Regions from separate parts of the Homo sapiens genome. Here all the other regions are linked to region 1. Evidence: promoter capture Hi-C in human tissues and cell types (Jung and others, 2019). All regions are on one chromosome and are shown on one strand. The core of a region is centred on a gene start or on the middle of the fragment in contact, and the rest is flanking DNA. Distances in the headings are between cores, read along the strand shown.

Region 1 (4,089 bases), core at 1,147-3,646:
ATAGCACTCCCAGTTTTCATCTCCAGCCCTGCCTGCTGGAAATACATTCTCCACATTCCCGGGAATCTTATGGGCATCTCAAACTCAAGACTTCATTTATTTAAAAAAAATTTTTGTGATGACAGGGCCTCCCTATGTTGCCCAGGCTGGTCTTGAACTCCTGATCTCAAGTGATCCTCCCACCTTGGTCTCCAAAAGTGCTAGGATTACAGGCGTGAGCCACCGTGCCCGGCCATTATTTATTTTAATTTCGAAGATGCGGGTCTCACTATGTTGCTCAGGCTGGTCTTGAACTCCTGGGCTCAAGGGATCCTCCCACCTCAGCCTTCCAAACAAATGGTACTACAGGCGGGTGCCACTGTACCCAGCTCAGTGTTTAAAAACAGGACTCTTGTGGTCAGGCGCAGTGGCTCACTCCTGTAATCCCAGCACTTTGGGAGGCCAAGGCGGGCGTACCTGAGGTCAGGAGTTCAAGACCAGTCTGGCCAACATGGCGAAATCCCGTCTCTACTAAAAACACAAAAATTAGCCAGGCGTGGTGGTGTATGCCTGTAACCCCAGCTACTTGGAAGGCTGAGATGGGAGAATAGCTTGAACCCGGGAGGCAGAAGTTGCAGTGAGCCGAGATCGTGTCATTGCACTCCAACCTGGGCAACAGAGAAAGATTCCGTCTCAAAAAAGTTAAAAACAAACAAACAAACAAAAAACAAAAAAAAGAACTCTTGACTTTCCCTCTGAAACCTGATACGCACGCCAGTCATTCTTGGGAAATGGTAACACCATTCACTCAGCTACTAATAAAAATCAGCCGGGTGCGGTAGCTCAGCCTGTAATCCCAGCACTTTGGGAGGCCAAGGCGGGTGGATCAGGAGGTCAGGAGTTCAAGACCAACCTGGCCGAGATGGTGAAACCCCGTATCTACTAAAAATACAAAAAATTAGCCGGGCATGGTGGCAGGCACCTGTGATCTCAGCTACTTGGGAGGTTCAGGCAGAGAATTGCTTGAACCCAGGAGGCGGAGGTTGCAGTGAGCCGAGATCGCGCCACTGCACTCCAGCCTGGGCAACAGAGCGAGACTCCATCTCAAAAAAAAAAAAAAAAAGAATAAAAACCTCAGGTCCTGTAGTCTTTTCTTTCCTAACCTCCACTTCCAGTCCCTTAGCAACCTTAAAGCTATCCCAAATGTGACTTCTCAGTATCCACTGGTTCCACCCTACTCCAAGTCACCATCATCTCTTACCTGACAATGGCCTCCTAAGCGACCTGCCTGCTTCATCTCTTATGCCTGGAAAGGCCACTCTCTACAGAGAAATCACAGCCCTTCCCTTCCTAAACATCCTCCCAGATAAGATGGCTTCCCACTACATTTAGAATGAAATCCAAGCGCCTACAAGACCCTGCACAATCCATCTCTTACACTACTCTTGATGTTCAGCCACAAAGGCCTCCTTTCTGCTGCTCAAACTATTTGCAGCCTGCCGCAGGGCATTTATGTGCACTGGTATTTCTCTCCAGTGGAATAATCTCCCCCTAGTCACCTCAGAGCCAGCTCCTTCTCAATCACTGAGGTCTCAGCTCAATGCACCTCCTCAGAGAGGCCTTCCTTAACACCCTATCTCACCTCCTCTGCAGTCCTCGCGCGACACTATCACAACCGTCTTAGTTCTTTCATAACACTTACCAGCAGCTGAAATTATCCTTTCTCTAGCTCTTGCACTAGAAAGTAAGGCTATGAGCAGATGCCAATACTGCAAACTCCCCAGAGCCTAGAAGAGTTCCTGACACATAGCAGGTCCTCAAGAAATATTCTTGAAGAGATGCATAACAACGGTAACCCTTACTGAGCTCCCATAGTGTGCCGACTGGTTTATTTAGTCCCCACAGCAACCCCATAAGGAGGGTGTTATTTTTTCGTCATTTCACAGAGAAGGAAAATGAAGCACGGAGAGGTTAAGCCATTTGCCCGAGGTCTCACAGCTACAGCGAGCAGGGCCAGGATGAGAACCAGGCTTGAGACCACAGCACCCGAGGGCGGGGTGGGTCGCGGCCCCTCTGCCGGCTCGCTGGCCGGGCAGCTCCGCATTCCGCCAGTCTGGGCAGCTGGAGACAAGGCAAGAGCCCCAGCTGGAGGGATGAGCGCCCCAGGGCTCAGATCTGTCCGATCACCTCCTGTGGGTCCGATGCAGCGGGTGCCTGCCCCTCTCCCAGCCTCACTCCCCCACGCCAGGGAACCGATACCTGCACCGGCGTCATGTACGGGAAGCCCAGCTCCCGCAGCGCGCCCAGCACCTGCGGGTGCAGCGGCACAGGCAGCGACTCCCAGGAGCCCTCTGTCACATGCTCCATGGCGCGCTCCTTCGCCGCGTCGGTCGCCGCTGCTCGAACGCGCCTTGTGCACCCCCAACGAGCACTTCCGCTTCCCGCAGCTCCAGCGGCCGGCCGGGAACTTCGCTGGAGCAGCAGAGTTCCGGAGCGCGGCGAAGGCTCCCACGCCGCGGGAGGGAGGAAAGGCGTCCGCGGGACGGTGGAGGCAGGCGGCGGGGCAGGCCTGGGGAGTTACACCCGCTCCGCACAGCGCCCTGGGCTCCGGGCGCCTCTCCGCACCGGGCAGGAGTTTTGGCGGGAGGGATTCTGGCCCGGCCCTCCCACTTTCTCTGCCCCTCGGAGGCAGGTGGCAGCACAGGACCGCGTCCAGGCCGAAGGACAGCGGGGCTGGCTACCGTGGGCAGAGAAACGTGTCGGGGACCCGGGTTAGCAGCCCTGCAAAACAGGCACCCGCTGATGGCCGGTACGTCCTGAATGTTGCGGTCCGATGGCCGGTACGTCCTGAATGTTGGTTTACTTTCCCGGAAGTTAGGGTCAGAGTCCTAACTAAGAACACTGTCCCATTCCTCTGTTCACTGTTTGCCTGGGCCATTCATGTCCACATACAACTTCACTCAGAAAGCTGTTTTTGTTGTTGTTGTTGTTGTTGTTGTTGTTTGAGACGGAGTCTCGCTCTGTTGCCCAGGCTGGAGGCTGGGCGCTATAACGGTTCACTGCAAGCTCCGCCTCCCGGGTTCACGCCCTTCTCCTGCCTCAGCCTCCCGAGTACCTGGGACTGCAGGCGCCCTCCACCACGCCCGGCTAATTTTTTGTATTTTTAGTAGAGACGGGGTTTCACCGTGTTAGCCAGGATGGTCTCGATTTCCTGACCTCGTGATCCGCCCGCCTCGGCCTCCCAAAGTGCTGGGATTACAGGCGTGAGCCACCGCGCCCGGCCTTCACTCAGCAAACTTTTATTGACCACTCATTATGTGCCCTCTATGAGGGCCTATCTCCTCCACCTATGTGCATGGCTTGCTCCTGTTGAGGCTCTGAAAACGAAACCCCAAAATGAAGGCCCCAGAGGCAGCCTCAGAAGCAAGTTTCTCTCTGACCTTCTGCTCCCTCTCTGATCTCTGATTCTCTGAGGCTAGCCATAGAAACTCAAGAATCCCTCTTGCCCATGACGGAGCATAGAAACAGGAATCCCTTTTCTCCACAGTCAGCCATAAAACCTAAAAATATTACTCTCTCTCCACCTTTCTGTGAAAAAACTGGCCATAAAGAAATTATTGGCCTGGCACGGTGGCTCACGCCTGTAATCTCACCACTTTGGGAGGCCAAAGCGGGCAGATCTCAAGGTCAGGAGTTCGAGACCAGCCTGGCCAATATGGTGAAACCCCGTCTCTACTAAAAATACAGAAATTAGCCAGGCGTGGTGGCGCATGCCTGTAGTCCCAGCTACTCAGGAGCCTGAGGCAGAAGAATCGCTTGAACCAGGGAGGTGGAGGTTGCGCCACTGCACTCCAGCGTGGGTGACAAAGCGAGACTCAGTCTCAAAAAAAAAAAGAAAAAGAAATTATCTGGGCTAGGTGCGGTGGCTCATGCCTGTAATCCCAGCACTTTGGGAGGCTGAGGCAGGCGGATCACCTAAGGTAAGGAGTTTGAGACCAGCCTGGCCAACGTAGTGAAACCCTGTCTACTAAAAATACAAAAAATTAGCCAGGTGTGGTGGCAGGTGCCTGCAGCTACTCCGGAGGCTGAGCTACAAGCATCGCTTGAACC
Region 2 (4,089 bases), core at 423-2,922, 460 kb after region 1:
GTTGATTCCATGTCTTTGCTATTGTGAATAGTGCTGCAATGAACATACGTGTGCCTGTATCTTTATGATAGAACGATATTTTTAGTAGAGACGACGTCTTGCTATGTTGCCCAGACTGGTCTGGAACTCCCAGGTTCAAGCAGTCCTCTTGAGGTGTGAGCCATTGTGGCTGGCCAAATTACTTATATTAACAACTGCCCTTGCTAGAGGACACAAAGGAGATTAACCAACAGGCAGGTTTCCGGTAACAGACAAATCAAAAACCCAAGACAACCTTGGAGAGAGAGCATGGAAAAATCAGTTTCACACTCTCCTTGTTGAAGTTCCCCATTCTTCATAAAGCTTTTCCTTGAGTGCCATTGCCTCTGAAGTCCCTTATCTCTATTGTGGAAAGGGGTCTTATTAAGACCTGGCTAGTCAGAAAGATCAGAGGTCATGATCAGGGACGTCAGCGGGAGTCATGGGTCCAGGGAAAAGGCAGAGTGTTATCAGAGCAGCAGCAGGACCCAAGAGACCTCAAGGCTGATTCCAGCCTTGGAGCAGAAGCTGACAGCTCAAACTCCCTATTGGGTGTGGACATGCCAACCTGCAGCCTTAGGAGCACATGAATGTAGGGTGGAATAGCTCTGTCTGAGGAAAGTATATCCTGACTATGCATACATGTATGCATAGTTATTTGATTCATATTGTTGGCCATAGTTAGGTTCTTCTTTTTTTATTTTTTGTGACAGGGTCTCTCTCTGTCTCCCAGGCTGGAGTGCAGTGGTGCAATCATTGCTCACTGCAGCTTCAAACTCCTGGGCCCAATGATCCTCCTGCCTCAGCCTCCTGAGTAGCTGGGACTACAGACTTGTGCACCACGCTGGCTAACATAGTTATGTTCTATAAAGTCCCTCTTCAAACACTGAGTTAGTGAACACTGAACCACTGCTCCTAGGGAAAACACAGGGTTAGGCTCCTTTGAGCCTGCGGGGACAATATTTTCTTTAACCAATCCATATGTAATCTTATTTTATATATGTTTCTGTTAAAAGAGATCGGGCATGGTGGCTCATGCCTATAATCCCAGCACTTTGGGAGGCCGAGGCGGGTGGATTACCTGAGGTCAGGAGTTCGAGACCAGACTGGCCAACATGGTGAAACCCTGTGTCTACTAAAAATACAAAAATTGGCTGGGCACAGTGGCTCATGCCTGTAATCCTAGCACTTTGGGAGGCCGAGGTGGGCAGATAATGAGGTCAAGAGATCGAGACCATCCTGGCCAACATGGTGAAACCCCATCTCTACTAAAAATACAAAAATTAGCTGGGTTTGGTGGTGTCCATCTGTAATCCCAGCTACTCAGGAGGCTAAGGCAGGAGAATTGCTTGAACCCAGGAGGTGGAGGTTGCAGTGAGCCGAGATCGTGCCCCTGCACTCTGGCCTGGCGACAGAGTGAGACTCTGTCTCAAAACAACAACAAAAAAGACACCCTATTTAATATGTATCATTGATTCATTAACATTAAACTCCTGGCCATCAACACTGTGACTCATGTCTGAATGAAGCTTCTCTAACACAAGAGATTTTCTCTGCACATCATAATCATCTTGCACCCAAGAACTAGACTGCACCTCAGCACTGTGATTGGGGGCCATTCCAAACAGCAAAATCACCAACACAAAGCACACAAGTGCCAAAAATGTGGCACTGCACAGACCACAAAAAGGACACGTGTTTCCATTAGGAGAGCTGAGATGGGAAGATAGAGGATGTCCCCTCGTTCAACCTCAGCAGGGAATGTGCCATCAGGCAACTCAAATTTTTTGCCAATTTGCACAAATTTGAAAATGAATTTGAAAGCACCATGAGCATTGATTTTGGGGTTACAGATAAATTTTAGTGACTAGGGTAATTCACAAATATGGAATCCATGGATAGTGAGGATCTGCCACCTTTGGCATCATGTCAGCCCCCACGGTGTATCCAGCCTAGCTCAGGGCACCTCACAATGCTGATGGTACTTAATGGATGAAGACTGGAGCTGCGGGATGAGGCTGTGGGCAGATTCTTGTGTTTGCTTGTCTTAGGTGCTACAGAAAGACAAGCTGTCCTCCCTCAGCCCTGCTGTAGCTTCTTCTAGAAGGGCTGCTGCCAGCAGAATGGTGCCCATCTCTCTCTGCTCAAGTCTACAGGTAGGAGGGACCCTGTACTTTCATGCAGTGGGTTCTGGCGGCAGCCCTGCAATAGACTTGGCCTTTCTTAGGAGCTGAGACCAATCCTTCTCCCAAAGGAATAATCCTCTTACGGAGGTGTTTCAGGCCAAGATGGGGGGTTCCTGGGGCCCCCATGCCTCAAATTGTGGCCTTCTTATGCCTGGGCTCTCTCAGAGGAAGCTTTCCCAAGTCTTTTGCCTGTTGTGTGCCCTCTTAAGAGTTCGTACGTACGTCATACGGATTATTACTGTTTCTCCTCTGCAGAGCTGTTTATTTCCCCTTTTGAGAGGTGGCTCCTGGGGAGGGCCTGAATTTTCTCTTTTGGCAGCTGGGGGGCTTCCCTTCCAAGTCTGACTCACAGGCTGTGCTGTGGAGCAGGGCTGTGCACTTTGCTTCTGTTGTCCTCCTGGGATTAGAATCAGGCCCTTGGGCTTCCCAGCCCCCTAGGGAGGGCTCACTGGGCACCAGTGTCCTGCATGAGGTGGTGAGCCAGTGGGAGAGCTTGTTATGGGTGCTGCTGGCTCCACCCTCTGCTGTCTCTCTAGACAGCCCCTTGGAGGGAGGGATCGAGGGAGGGGGGAGGGGGATAGGGATGGGTGTGTCAGGGTAGAAATAGGTGGCTATTCCCAGCTTTCATCAGTGGCGTGAGGTTGTCTGAGAGGCAGGGCTTCCCCACAGGTGTGGATGCGTGCTTAACACTGGCTTGGCGACGGTGCTCTGGAGAACAGGAGGACATTCTTCCTCTCACACTGAAGGGCCCATTTAAGTGCTTTCCTTGGTACTTTATAACAGTTGACTTTTCACTTGCTTTTTTTTTTTTTTCATAAGAGGGAGAAAAACTCAACATTTTTTGCAATTAGAATTTTTCCCATGTGGGTAATCACACTGGAAAAAAGCATTTAAATCCTTTGAAAACCACACATAAGTGAGGCTCACGGAGCAGGGGGAACATTCAATCAGCAGGGGTGGCCAGACGTGGAGGCACTTCAGCGGGTTATCGTGTAAGGAAACAATTATTTTACATTTATTTTGGGTTTGCTTGTTGCAGCATATTTCAATTAGTTCATCAGTGTTGTGCATCTGACAGGCCAAACGTTTATTGTGGTTGAACCATCTGGGAGGTGGGAGGCCTGCAGCCTTCCCCATGGCAGTCAGGAACTACTAGTTTAAAGGAAATTTGTTTGATGTGTTTAAGAACCCAACACTAAAACACCATTAATAACAAAATCCTCAAGAATTCTGAAAGCACTCTCACCTATTTCGCCATCAGTTGGGCATGCATCACTCGAGACTTCATTCTTCCCCTAAGCGGGACATTTTCCAATACGCTGAAGCAAAGTTTTGAAGTGGCTTACTTAATTGGTCCAGAGCACGATTTGTATTAACCCAGCAAGGAAAATAGCTCACTAATTTATATTTGAGTGTGAAATAGCTTATGCATTTGCTGCTGGGAGTAGCAAGGGATGCATTTAGCGGATTCTTGCCATTAGTATGCAGCTGAGCTCCTGTCCTGTACTGTGATAGAGAGTATTAGTTTGACTTCAGTTCCCAGCCTTGGGTGACTCACCAGAGCATTGTGAGTTCACGGTAGTGACTGCTGACCGGTGCAATTTGTCGTGCACTCTTTGAATACCAAGATTTTATAGTACCTGATTTCACCCATTTTTCATTTTACTTCAATTATTCCTCCCCACCACACCCCCACTAAAAGTTCTCTTTCCTGAGGAATGTTCTGTCTGACTTTCCAGCAGGGGGGATAAAGGAATTTAGAATCAAACAAATAGGAGAGCCAGAAGGAGCACTGGAAAAAACCGAGTCCAAGGGTTTGACCTTTCCACAAAGGGGAATGACTTTCCATTTCCCTGAAACCCTGAGATCACAGGGCTGGGTGTGG
Region 3 (4,089 bases), core at 543-3,042, 440 kb after region 1:
CAGTGCAGATAGCATTTCTGGTTTTGCAGAAGATTCTGTTGGACAGTGCTGGTCTGAAGGGAACAAGAAGGGCAGCCCTGCTTCCTTCAGCACTTTACCCTCAGCTACAGTAGGGGCACAGAGTGTAAAGGGTGTGAAATGCCTGAGAGACAGTGAGGGGAATGTTCAGAGCCGCAAGTACCTGAATCTTGACTGAGATTCAGAAGTAACAGAAACCTAGAACAACAGTTAAGTTGAATCATAAAACTGTAAAATAAATTGTATCCAAAATATAGATTGTTACATGTGATTTTTAAATTAGTGTACAAATGTGTAAATACTGTTTGAGAGCAGATTGTTTTATATGCACATGCAGTCTGAAATGAAGTGCAGACCTTTATAATGCCTGACCGTTTTCATTCTAATAGCACACTAGCAACTTCAGACGTCAGCAGGCGGAAATGGCTGATTCCAGGTGCAGAGTATTCCATCTTTACTGGCCAGCCTCTGGACACCCAGGACAGTAACGTGGATAACCAGCTGGAGGAAACCTGTAGCCTAGGGTGAGATAACTTTGCTAAAGATTCTATTTAGGGATGTTATGTTTTCTTAGAGATTTCAATTGCTTTTAAAAGTTTGGGAAGCCCTCTCTTTGGTTCTTTAATGTCTTAATTTTGAGAACCTGACTTTTATTTTACTTTGAAAGGCTACTACTTTTAGAATATTTTACTTCCATGAGCTCTGCCAAGCTTCCCCACCTGTGCTCAGTGGCACAGTATGGGTTTGTGATTAGGATAGGATGTCGATCCTCAGGCCAGGTGTGGTGGCTCACGCCTGTAATCCCAACACTTTGGGAGGCCAACGTGGAGGATCGCTTGAGCCTAGGAGTTCGAGACCAGCTTGGGCAGCATGACAAAATCCCACCTCTACAAAAAATAAATATATTAGCCGGGCATGGTGACATGCGCCTGTAGTTTTAGCTACTTGGGAGGCTGAGGTGGGAGGATTACTTGAGCCTGGGGAGCTCAAGGCTACAGTGAGCTATGATTGTGCCACTGCACTCCAGCCTGGGTGACAGAGTGAGACCTTGTCTAAAAACAAACAAAAGATGTAGATCCTCTCCCACTTCAGATGGCTCTGGCCAGCCCGAGCCCCGAGCCTGCGTGAGCAGCCTCAGCCGCTTACTCCAGGGTGCTGTGCAGATGCTGTTCCTCTAAGTGTAGGACTAGAAGGATGGGAAAGCACTGTATGCAGGTTTAATTTATTTGCATTGCAAAGCATGCTCATTGTGGAGTATAATTGTCAACTCTGTTATTCCCCTAACAACCCCAGTAAAGTGTGTGTTTTAGCTTGGACTGTTATAACAAATTACCGTAGACTGGGTGGCATAAACAACACACATTTCTTTCTCTACCTCTGGAGGCTGGAAGTGCAAGATCAGGGTGCTGAGTGTTTGGTGAGGGCCCTCTTCCTGGTTATGTCCTCACATGGCCTTTCCTTGGTGTGTGTGCACAGAGAGAGCGCTCCTGCCTCTTTCCCTTTTTCATAAGGGCATTAATCCCATCTTGGAGGCTTCACCCTCATGACCTCATCCAACCCTAATTACCTCGTAAAGACCCCACCTCCACACACCATCACATTGAAGATTAGGGCTTCAACATGTATGTTTGGTGTGGGGGCGGGGGGCAAGATACAGACATTTAGTCCATAGCACTGTATGTCTTAAAATTATTGTTTAAGGCACCGTTCACCTCTGGAAAAGGATTCTTCACCTGGAAGTTCATCAACAAGCTTGTTGATAAAAAAGCAAAGAGAGACTTCAGACACGCCGATCATGAGAGCTTTAAAAGAACTTGATGAGGGAAAAATATTTAAAAATTGGGGGACACAGACAGAGAAAGAGGACACCTCAAATAGTGAGTATTTCCTTGTTTGAGATAGATGGATATAGATATCTTTTCCCCATTTATATTACCTTCGTTAAAATTAAAATATTTAGGTAATGAAATTAAAAGTTTTAGCTCTGTAAACTTGCTATTTTACTGCTACTTCAGCCCCGTTTCATAGAGAATTGAATGTCCTAGTTAATAATTTATCACAGTTCTGGCATAACATGTACCTTTTGTACAAAGCCAGTTGAATCTTACATTCCGATTATGAAAAAGGCTTACATGGCATTCTTTTTTTTTTTTTTTTTTTTTTGAGACAGTGAGACAGAGTCTCACTCTTTTGCCCAGGCTGGAGTGCAGTGCGTAATCTCAGCTCACTGCAAACTCCATCTCCAGGGTTCAAGCTATCATCCTGCCTCAGCCTCTCAAGTACCTAGAATTACAGGTGCCCTCCAGCACCCCCGGCTAATTTTAATATTTTTAACAGAGACGGAGTTTCACCATGTTGGCCAGGTTGGTCTCGAACTCCTGGCTTCAAGTGGTCCACCCGCCTTGTCCTCCACAACACAACACAAAGTGTAAACACAAAGTGTTGTGATTACAGGCGTGAACCACTGCTCCTGGCCTTACATGGCATTCCTAAGGATATTTGAAAAATTCCTGTCAGTCCATCTTACTTGCACACATCAGAAGGCTGTGATAGGCATTTGGTATTCATGAAGTGAGATATAACATTTCCTCTTCTTTCTTGGTTACTGAGCATCTGTAGATAAGGCAAGTAGTGTCTTTAATACTGTGTTTTTTCACAGGTCCAGGTCACCAATACATTTCTCTCCTTTTCCACTATGCTTGCTTTCTCAGACCCCTTAGTCATCCTGCCAGCGTCTTTGCGGTTACATCTCCCAAGCAGTGTCTCTTAGTAAATAAATTAGTAACCTGCTTTCTAAAAATAACCCTCTTGAAAATCACCTTGAATGCCGATTGTAAACAGGGAGCCAGAATGAATTCATTATAAACTCCCATATTTTTCTTCATCAAGCATTTTTTATCATTATAATGTGGTGCATTTGCAAATAGTCACTATAACCTAGCTGGTGAGAATAAATGCTTTGAGCAGAACCTAAGCTGTGGGGCTTGGTGTGTAACCATGTGTAACCACCTGTTAATAAAGGTGGATAACTGAAGCGTAGGCTTGTTTTGATTTGTTTTTTGTTTTGCTTTTTTTTGGTCTGCTGTAGTAAATCCTCGGCAAACTGAAACTTCAGTTAATGCAAGTCGTTCTCCAGAAAAGTGTGCCCAACAGAGACAAAAGAGACTTAATTCGGCCTCACAGAGATCATCATCTTTACCACCTTCAAATCGTAAATCAAGTACTCCAAGTAAGAGTTAGATGTGTACATCTCTTGGGTTCAAAAGCGTGATCTCTGAGTCAAATCTATTTGTGCCCGCTGCTTGCCTGTTTCTGGTTTCTCTTGTATCCTCAGCACCTAGTAGAGTACTCTGAGCAGAGGACCCCTAAATAAGATCTTGTTCATAAATAAAATTGTCTGATCACATAGATACTACAAATGTAAATGAAGAAATCTGTTTATTAAAGTGAGATTTTTTATTGTGTCCAGTAAATTGTTTACAACTAATACTAATAATTTATTGTGTCCACTAAATTGTTTGCAACTAATACTTAAAAATGCCAGCTATCCAAACATTAATTCAATCAAATTAATCCAAGCTAGTCTCAAATATACTTCTTATGTATTTGATCTCAAGTACTTAGCATTAGTCACCATTTTTCTTTAGCCAATAACAGGTTGGTTTTAAAGTTGAAGCATTGAATTCCTGTCCTGAATTTCCGTTTTCACACCAGCTGAGGAGATTCTTATTATTGTGTTATAGGAATGTTCAGTAGTGTACTGCTGTTTCCATCTTATTTCCAGTCGACTTCTAAAATCCTGAAAAACCAGTTTTGAGTCAGAGTGCTGAAAGTACTGTCTGATATACTACAGTGTTACAGTGGTTACCTCTAGGTGTTAGGATTATGAGTGATTTTATTTTTTTGTACACTCTTATTTCTCTCTCAAAGTTTTACGTTGAAATTATATTCCTTTCAAAATTAGAAAAAAAATACTGAATAAGAAACTGTTATGCTGATACATATAGAAGGAAAAGAATATTTCCTCTTCATTTTCTTCTATAGCAAAAAGAGAGATTATGCTAACACCAG
Region 4 (4,089 bases), core at 885-3,384, 380 kb before region 1:
AACCCCAAAGACAATCATGGTATTATCTGAAGTCGAGGTCATGCAGTCTCAAATAATTCTATGTGAAAAATATCAATGGTCCAGTCTATCTAGACAGATATGCCCCAATTTACAGAAGTACAACTATATTGCAAGAAAAATTTACCATGTAGAAATATTGATTTTAATACCATAGCTATGTATAGTATCTAGTCATTCTTACAGCAAAACATGTGTACTGTAAAATTATTCTTTGTAAATCCTCTTCGTGACACACCTATGTGTCCTATAAGACCTTCAAACTCAAGTACATCCAAAACTGAATCAGTCACTTCCTCACCAAAGCCTACTATATTCCTGTCTTAATCTGTTTTCTATTGCTTACAAGAGAATACCTGAAACTGGATAATTTATGAAGAAATTTATCTCTTACAGTTATGGAGGCTGAAAAAGCCCAGGACCACATCTGGTGACAGCTCTCCTGCTGGTGGGGACTCTCCAAAGAGCCCTGAGCCGGCACAGGGCATCACACGATGAGAGGGGGCTGAGCATGTTAACATGCTGTCTCAGATCTCTTTTCTTTTTATAAAGCCCCCAGGTCCCCTCCCATGACAACCCATTAATCTATGAATGGCTCTGCCCTCATGAGCCAAACCTCTGAAAGGCCCCACCTCTCAACACTGTCACATTGGGGATTAAGTTTCAACATGAGTTTTGGAGGGGACAAATATTCAAACCATAGCCAATTCCCAACTATAGTAAATGAGTCCACTCTCCCCTCAATTGCCCAAGTCAATATCATTGACTTCCCCCCATCACAAAGGTCTAGCCACTCTCTTCCAAATACCTCTGGAAACTCTCCACTGTGTACCTGCATTGTCTCAACTTAACTCAAGCCACCATCATCTTCCCTGGAATTCTACAAAAGCCTCCAGTCTTGCTTCCCTCTAATCCATTATCTACTCTAATGTAACCTTCTAAAATGCAAAATGGATTGTTCTTACCCTACTCACAAGTTTTCAATGGGTCCCAATCATTTTCAGTGTAAATTCCAAATTTATTCATTGGCTTTAACCAAAAAAAAAAGTGCTCATGTCTATTTGCCATGTAGCTATCATGTCCCAGATATACTTTGTTAAATCAAATGTTCCATCATACATGTAATACAGGTACATGTAATCTTGGCAAATACAAAAAAGATTATTTAAATCACCCGACATCCTACCGAATTCCACAATTCTTAAGATTTCCATCTAATTTCTTCTACATATTTTTGCCATTCATAGGTTTTACTGGAAGGCTGCTGGGACTTTTTTTGGGGCGTTTTCATCATATCAGGTATACAATTGTGTATCCTGATTTCCTTCCACTTAACACTATCATAAGCATTTTAATATATTTTCTTCATAAACGTTTTTAATGGCAATGTTATTTGCCACTAAATATATGATATAGGGGATGTATCATAACCATTCTGCAAACTGTGCCCATAAATATAATTCTACAATATACATATTTTGTGCAGAAAGCTTTTCTCTGTATTTAAAAATATTCTTTTGATGGTTCCTAGACCATCAAGAAATGTAAATAATTTTAAGACTCTTGACACATATGGCCAATGTAACATAAGAGTGTGTCATTTTTACCACATCCTTTTAGGTACTAGGCACTGTATATTTTTGTCTAAATCTAGACCTTCATGAAATTGGTGAGAAATTGTAACATCTTCCTTACAAAAGTAAATGCCCATTGTAAAAAAAACTGAAGCAATGCAAACACATGTGATATGAAAAACCAGTCTCCCCTAGGCTTTTCCCATGAAGTAATCAGAATTAAATGTTTTCAGGTATTCTAGTCTTTTTCTAATTCTTATTCAGAATATATATATATACACACACTCACCCTTCATTATTTTGTTTTGTATCTTACAAAAAATGAGATTAAGCTTGCTTTTTTGGCTCAACAGTATATTCTAGACATCCATACAGGCTATGTCAGTACATACAAATCTACCTCTCTATATAAAAAACTAATAGGCTAGACATGGTGGCTCATGCCTGTAATCCCAACACTTTGGGAGGCCAAGGCGGGAGGATCACTTGAGGCCAGGAGTTCAAGACTGGCCTGGGTAACGTGGTGAGACTCCGTCTCTACAAAAAAAATTTAAAAATCAGCCAGGTGTAGTGGTGTGTGTGTGTGTGTGTGGTCCCAGCTACTTGAGAGGCTGAGGCAGATCACTTGAGCCCAGGAGGCTGAGGCTACACTGAACCACATTCCGTACCACTGCACTCCAGCCTAGGCAACAGAGCAAGACCCTGTCTCAAAACAAAACAAACAAAAAATCCCACAAAAAACAAAACGCTACTTGATATTCCACAGTATATGGGTACCAAAATTTATTGTGATTATCTTCAATTTTTCATTATAAATGACGCTGCAATAGACATTGTTTATATTAACGTATGTTCTCCTATGAAAATAGCACAGATTCCTTGAAGTGTAGCTGCTAAATCAACGTGTACTTTTATTTTGATAAAATTCTGCCAAAATTGCCATCTAAAAACTTGGAAAAATTTTATGTCCCAACAATGTATTAGGTGCCTCTTTTACATCGCTGGATAGTTTTTAATTTTTGCCTGATGCCCTCCTCCCAACAAAAAAATCTAGTTTTTAAATTTCCATTCTCTTAATCACAATGAGGTTGAATTTCTCTTCACTGTTTGAACACATTTATCTAAGAACTATTCATATCCTCAATTCATTACCTAATTTGTTAATTCTATTTATTCTTTATACATGCTACAGGTTGTTTTCCCAGTCTGTCACTCTGTAACGCTTTTTGTCACAGAATTATCAACTGTGATTATAGTCAAATTTATCAATCCTTTCATTTATGATTTTAGGTCTTGGTCTTACCTAAATGGCCTACCTAAAACACATCATTTCCAGTGTATCCTTCTACATAACAAATTCTCTTATATTTCCTTCTAATGCTTTTATAGGTTTTTTTAGTTAGTTCCTTAATCCATCTAAGTTATTTTGAATGTGAAGTAGGATCTTTCTTTCTAAATAAAGAGCCACTTATCCCTATACAACACACTGAATTATAATTTCCCAACTGTTGCAAAACACCAACTTTATCATATACTAAATTCTGATATAAAAATGGGTCTGTTACTGGATTCTACTTTGCTCCAGGCGTCAATCTGTCTATTCTTGTGTTCACCATTTATATTACTGCAGCATTTCAGTATGCTTTGACTTCTCATATAGCAAATCCCCCAACACTACTTTTCCATTAAAAACGTTTGTCATTTTTTGGCCATTCTAGGACATTTACTCCTATAAAAGAGTTTTAGAAGCAATTTATCTAGTGTCCAGAAGAATTCCCACTGGGATTTCAATTGTAATTACATTGAAATCATAGTTTAATTTGGAGGTACTGCAATCTACAATGATGCCTTCCCCTCCAGGAACAAGTCTGCCCATTTATTTAGGTTAGCTTTTAAATCATTTAGGTAAAAGTTTTTACTTCTCTTCATAAAGCTTTGGTACATTTATGTCTTACTTGTAAATGTTTTCTAGTTTTGCTGCTATTCAGAACAGAATCTAACTTTTCTATACGGTAATTAGTGATTTGATTATTAATGAATTACACAGCTTTTCCAATGTTTCACAAGTTATATTTCTATCCAGCGAACTGTCTATTCACATCCTATAACCACCTGTGTGTGGATCTTCATTATTTTCTTCACCAATTTGGATGAGTTCTTTGCATATTGAAAATACTAACTCTTAGCTTATCATTTGCCACAAATATTTTCCACTTTATGATTCGGGTTTTTTTTTTCCCTTCTCTTCCTAAAGAATAAATTTTTATGTAGTCTAATACACTAATTTTTAATTATTATTTTCTCTATTGTTTCTAATAGCAGCAGCTACTTACAGATTTGAGTGCCCTGTAGGTGCCTGGCCCTTTATCTCTTACTCTCATAACACCTGCAAAGTGGGGATAATTTTCCTCACTTAAAAGATTCCAGTTTAGACACATCTGAGTCTAAAGCATGTGCTCCATCCACCTTAGCATGTAAAACTCCTCTTTCCAGATGT
Region 5 (4,089 bases), core at 656-3,155, 340 kb after region 1:
TTTTTTGCAGAGATGAGGTCTCACTATGTTGCCTAGGCTGGATCCTGGGCTCAAGTGATCCTTCCACCTTAGCCTCTCAAAGTACTGGGATTATAGGTGTGAGCTACCACGCCTGGTGTAAAGAAGTGCTATTTTAAATAATCTCTCATGAAAGTGTTTGAAATGCTTGTTCCCCGGTGCCGTGAAGAAATAGCACTTGAACATAAATTTAATTTACTCAGCAAGGCCATTTTTACTTCCCGCAGAAAGGGTACATTCGCCAGCAGTTTTGCCACGAGAGTACACCGAACAAAGAGACAGGGTCATTTGTAACCTGATGCGTCCACCCTACTGCTGTGTCCGGTTTCCATTGGCTGGAACGGGACCTCATATTCTGTATTTGTCCTGATTGGGAAGCAACTTAAAACTTTTTAAAAGAGGCGAAGGCAGAAGAGAACAAAGGAAGGAGAAAGTAACTTGTGGAATGGTGAGAAAGGTAAACACTTTTAAATAAGGAAGAGGAACAGGCTATGACCTAATGCTTGCTCCGACCAGTGTAAGCATGCCAGGACAAATATTTAGGCTAAATTGTGGGAGCTAAGAACATAAAGTACATTGATTTCTTTACCACGGCTAGCAGATAATTAGGAATGTTAGCACAGGTCTTTGAATAAATTTTGCTTCGAAGAGAAGTTACCGTTTATTCCAAATTAAATGGGGAGGAAAGTCTTTGGAGAGGAACCTCTACTTTACCTTTTACAAGAGGTAGGAGATGCCTGTTCAAACTGTATTTTCCCATCTGACACGGAAACATTTTGGTGATATCATTAGCACAGTTGGCTGGGGAAAGAATGTGTTTGCTAAGTCAGAGGTAGGGATAAAGTGAAGTTGCATTATGGGTGTATTTTAAGTGCAGCAAACTTAAGTGTATGCTAGGAAAAAAAAATAGCAGCAGCAGTTTTTAAAAAAAAAATTTTTTTTTTTTTAGATGGAATCTCCCTCTGTTGCCTAGGCTAGAGTGCAGTGGCTTGATGTTGGTTCACTGCAATCTCTGCCTCCCAGGTTCAAGCGATTTTCCCAGCTTAGCCTCCCGAGTAGCTGGATTACAGGAGCGTGCCACCACACCCAGCTAATTTTTGTATTTTTAGTAGAGATGGGATTTTACCATGTTGGTCAGGCTGGTCTCCAACTTCTGACCTCAGGTGACCCAGCCGCCTTGGCCTCCCAAAGTGCTGGGTTTACAGGCGTGAGCCACCACGCCCGGCCAGAAGCAGTATTATTGAGTTGGCCTGTTACCCCATGGTTAGGCCATTCTCAGTTCGTAGGTGCTTATCCTGTGGGCTTTTGGTGGGTGCTACAGGAATCTTTTTCATAAAGTACGGCTCCTAACTTCAAGCTACTTCATATGGTGCTCACTGGAAGAATTATCTGCTCTGGTGCCAGGGAAAAAATGGGCTGCACTGGATGTGTTGAGAGTCCACGTGGTGGTCTCTGACAGTGCCTCCCAAAGGGATTTTAATTCTTACTCTATACCTTAGGCCCTAAATACCTGCAATGAGAATTTGCTTTGCTGAGCAGTAGACAAAGACAAATGAGAGAGACTTGTCTTTCTTTGATGCAGGCATGAGGCGAATTCTCAGCCATGACAAGGCTGAAGGCCAGCAGGAACAGGCTCTAGCGAAATGGGTGCTGTGTCCCCTTCCTGCATGTGGCAGAAAGTTGCAAAGGTATGAGAGAGGAGACAAACGGAAACCATTCTCCCTTATCTCCAGCTCCAAATTTCCCCTCCCACTCTTACTGGTTTCTTAGGTGTTGTTCTAGAGCCTTTATTTTCTACAGGGCGTTTGGGCTGGGGAAGGGTCCTGTACACTCGCAACAGGAGGTGTAGAATGAGCCCTGCATTGAATGTGTAAGCATCCAAAGCTGTCACTGAGGTGAGAAGAGCCTTCATTGGCAGCCTCAAAGAGAAAGGTGTGCTTGGATGTATGCACTGGACATGCCACCTAGGCCTACTGGACATGCCGCCTAGGCCTGCTGGACAGACTGCACAACTGAGGCCCTGCAACTGGCAATCTCCCAATGGCTTTCTCACCTCTCAGCATTTTTCCCTATTTGTTTTCTACGTGGACTCCAGAAGAGTTCTAACAAGCCAAGCTATAAAGCATGGCTTTAAAAGAAAAACAACTGTAAGGTAAAATCCAGCTTAAGTGACGTAAATTTACAAGCAAATCAGATTCTGGAACCTCACCTTTACAAATCTTGCAAATCAACGTGCAGGGAATGTGTTTGTTTCTACATCAGAGGCACAACTGGGCATCATACAGCCTAGAAGCTAATAGAGCACATGGACAAGGAACAGAGCCTTTAGCTCTTCCAACCCTCTTATTTTCTCTCTTTTTTTTTTTTTTTTTAGACAGTCTTGCTCTGTTGCTCACGCTGGAGTGCAATGGCGCAATCTTGGCTCACTGCAACCTCGCCTCCCAGATTCAAGCAATTCTCTTGCCTCAGCCTCCCAAGTAGCTGGGATTACAAGCGTGTGCTGCCACGCCTGGCTAATTTTTGTATTTTTAGTAGAGATGGGGTTTCACCATGTTGGTCAGGCTGGTCTCAAACTCCTGACTTCCATGATCCGCCTGCCCCAGCCTCCCAAAGTGCTGGGATTACAGGCGTGAGCCACCATGCCCGGCCCTTGTTTTCTCTTACTGTCTTGAGCTGACATGGGGATAACTGACTTTTAAGTGTCACTGGGCAGCAGCTTCCCAGCAGATGGCAAGTTGCCAAGAAATGCTATTAATGTTTGACTCCATTCTCCAGTTCTCCATAAAAATTGACTTTACTAATTACAAAAAAAATTTTATTATTACAAAACATACAATCTCACAAAGGTACAATTTGAAATACGGGGACACCCTTCTAACTACCACCCAGGTGAAGAAACAGAACTTTGTCAGGCACCCCAGAACCCCTCCAAGTGCCTCATCACAATGACAACTCCTTCCCTCTAGAAGTAGCCATTATTCTTGTATAGTACTGACTGTGTTTCTTTATGGTTTTATCTTATTTTTTAGAGACAGGGTCTTGTTCTGTCACACAAGAACAAGTGGACAGGTGGAGTGCAGTGGTGTTCATAGCTCACTGCAATCTTGAGCTCCTGGGCTCAGGTGATCTTCCTGTCTTAGCCTCCCAAGGTGCTGGGATTATAGGCGTGTGTCATTGCACTTGAACTAGTTTTATTTTTTTTTTGAGATGGGGTCTCGCTCTGTCACCCAGGTGTTGCCCAGGCTTGAGTGCAGTGGCGCGATCTCAGCTCACTGCAACCTCCGCCTCCCAGGTTCACGCAATTCTCCTGCCTCGGCCTCCCGAGTAGCTGGGATTACAGGTGCCCGCCACCATGCCTGGCTAATTTTTTGTATTTTTAGTAGAGACGGGGTTTCACCATGTTGGCCAGGCTGGTCTCAAACTCCTGACCTCAAGTGATCCGCCCGCCTCGGCCTCCCAAAGTGCTGGGATTACAGATGTGAGGCACCGTCCACCGTGCCCAGCCGAGTTTTATTCTTGAATCGTGCATGTCTCTGTTCACTACAGTTTAGTGCACCATTTAAATAAATTTGTTGTCTTTTAAGTTCATCAAAAATATTTCTTTTGAAGCACTATAATAATGCTGGTGATGGAACTCGCCACCATTATTCCCTGGGAGCTTCTGGCAGATTCTGTCAGTTGGAATCTCTAATTCTTTTCTCAGTGGACCTTTTTACTTGACTCCCACAGTTCTTTAAGTAGCTTCTTTTTTTCCAGGGTTTCCTTTGCTCTTTTTTTCCTTTCTTGTTTTTTCTTCGCCGCTTCTCGTTTTTCTTTGTGAACAGGACTGTTTTCACCATTGTAGAAAACATCTACTTTCTCTTGTAGGATTTTCCGAGCTAGCTTTCTGTTCTGATCAACTGATCTTGTCTGATGGCACTGTAAGAGATAATATTTTATAATGTGAAAACCACAGGATGTTAAAAATGGACAGGACCTCAGAAGTCATTAAATTCAACCTGTTCGCTTTTTTATTTACTATTTATTTATTTATTGAGACAGAGTTTCGTTCTTGTCATCCAGGCTAGAGTG

Evidence for each region. The method cuts DNA at HindIII sites, captures the fragments that hold promoters and counts their contacts. A contact is called where the count stands out against the background at its distance.
Region 2: a contact is called between a fragment that was not itself captured here and the fragment with the promoter of DDX55 in region 1, in 3 of the 25 tissues and cell types used here (dorsolateral prefrontal cortex, hippocampus and lymphoblastoid cells).
Region 3: a contact is called between a fragment that was not itself captured here and the fragment with the promoter of DDX55 in region 1, in 2 of the 25 tissues and cell types used here (adrenal gland and heart right ventricle).
Region 4: a fragment that was not itself captured here is called in contact with the fragment with the promoter of DDX55 in region 1 in 1 of the 25 tissues and cell types used here (dorsolateral prefrontal cortex).
Region 5: a contact is called between a fragment that was not itself captured here and the fragment with the promoter of DDX55 in region 1, in 6 of the 25 tissues and cell types used here (aorta, bladder, dorsolateral prefrontal cortex and 3 more).

What each region holds. Positions count from the first base shown.
Region 1 is chr12:123,600,406-123,604,494 of GRCh38, reverse strand. It overlaps DDX55 (DEAD-box helicase 55), which reads right to left and starts at 2,396. Exons shown (of 14, transcript NM_020936.3): 1 at 2,239-2,396. The coding sequence starts at 2,346. RefSeq lists an enhancer at 1,635-1,684 and a silencer at 1,925-2,034. The HindIII fragment of the contact is 15,410 bases long and covers 1-4,089 here.
Region 2 is chr12:123,141,811-123,145,899 of GRCh38, reverse strand. All of the region lies in intron 1 of PITPNM2 (phosphatidylinositol transfer protein membrane associated 2), which reads left to right. Among named protein-coding and RNA genes, the nearest start is that of PITPNM2, 7.2 kb to the left of the region's middle. The HindIII fragment of the contact is 5,243 bases long and covers 1-4,089 here.
Region 3 is chr12:123,163,108-123,167,196 of GRCh38, reverse strand. MPHOSPH9 (M-phase phosphoprotein 9) reads left to right here. Exons shown (of 24, transcript NM_022782.4): 17 at 408-542; 18 at 1,720-1,895; 19 at 3,107-3,247; 20 at 4,063-4,089. Among named protein-coding and RNA genes, the nearest start is that of PITPNM2, 14 kb to the right of the region's middle. The HindIII fragment of the contact is 3,703 bases long and covers 1-3,643 here.
Region 4 is chr12:123,977,909-123,981,997 of GRCh38, reverse strand. All of the region lies in intron 2 of ZNF664-RFLNA (ZNF664-RFLNA readthrough), which reads right to left. All of the region lies in intron 2 of ZNF664 (zinc finger protein 664), which reads right to left. Among named protein-coding and RNA genes, the nearest start is that of ZNF664-RFLNA, 6.7 kb to the right of the region's middle. The HindIII fragment of the contact is 4,848 bases long and covers 1-4,089 here.
Region 5 is chr12:123,256,660-123,260,748 of GRCh38, reverse strand. MTRFR (mitochondrial translation release factor in rescue) reads right to left here. Exons shown (of 3, transcript NM_152269.5): 3 at 2,789-3,936. The coding sequence ends at 3,718. Among named protein-coding and RNA genes, the nearest start is that of CDK2AP1, 13 kb to the left of the region's middle. The HindIII fragment of the contact is 6,691 bases long and covers 1-4,089 here.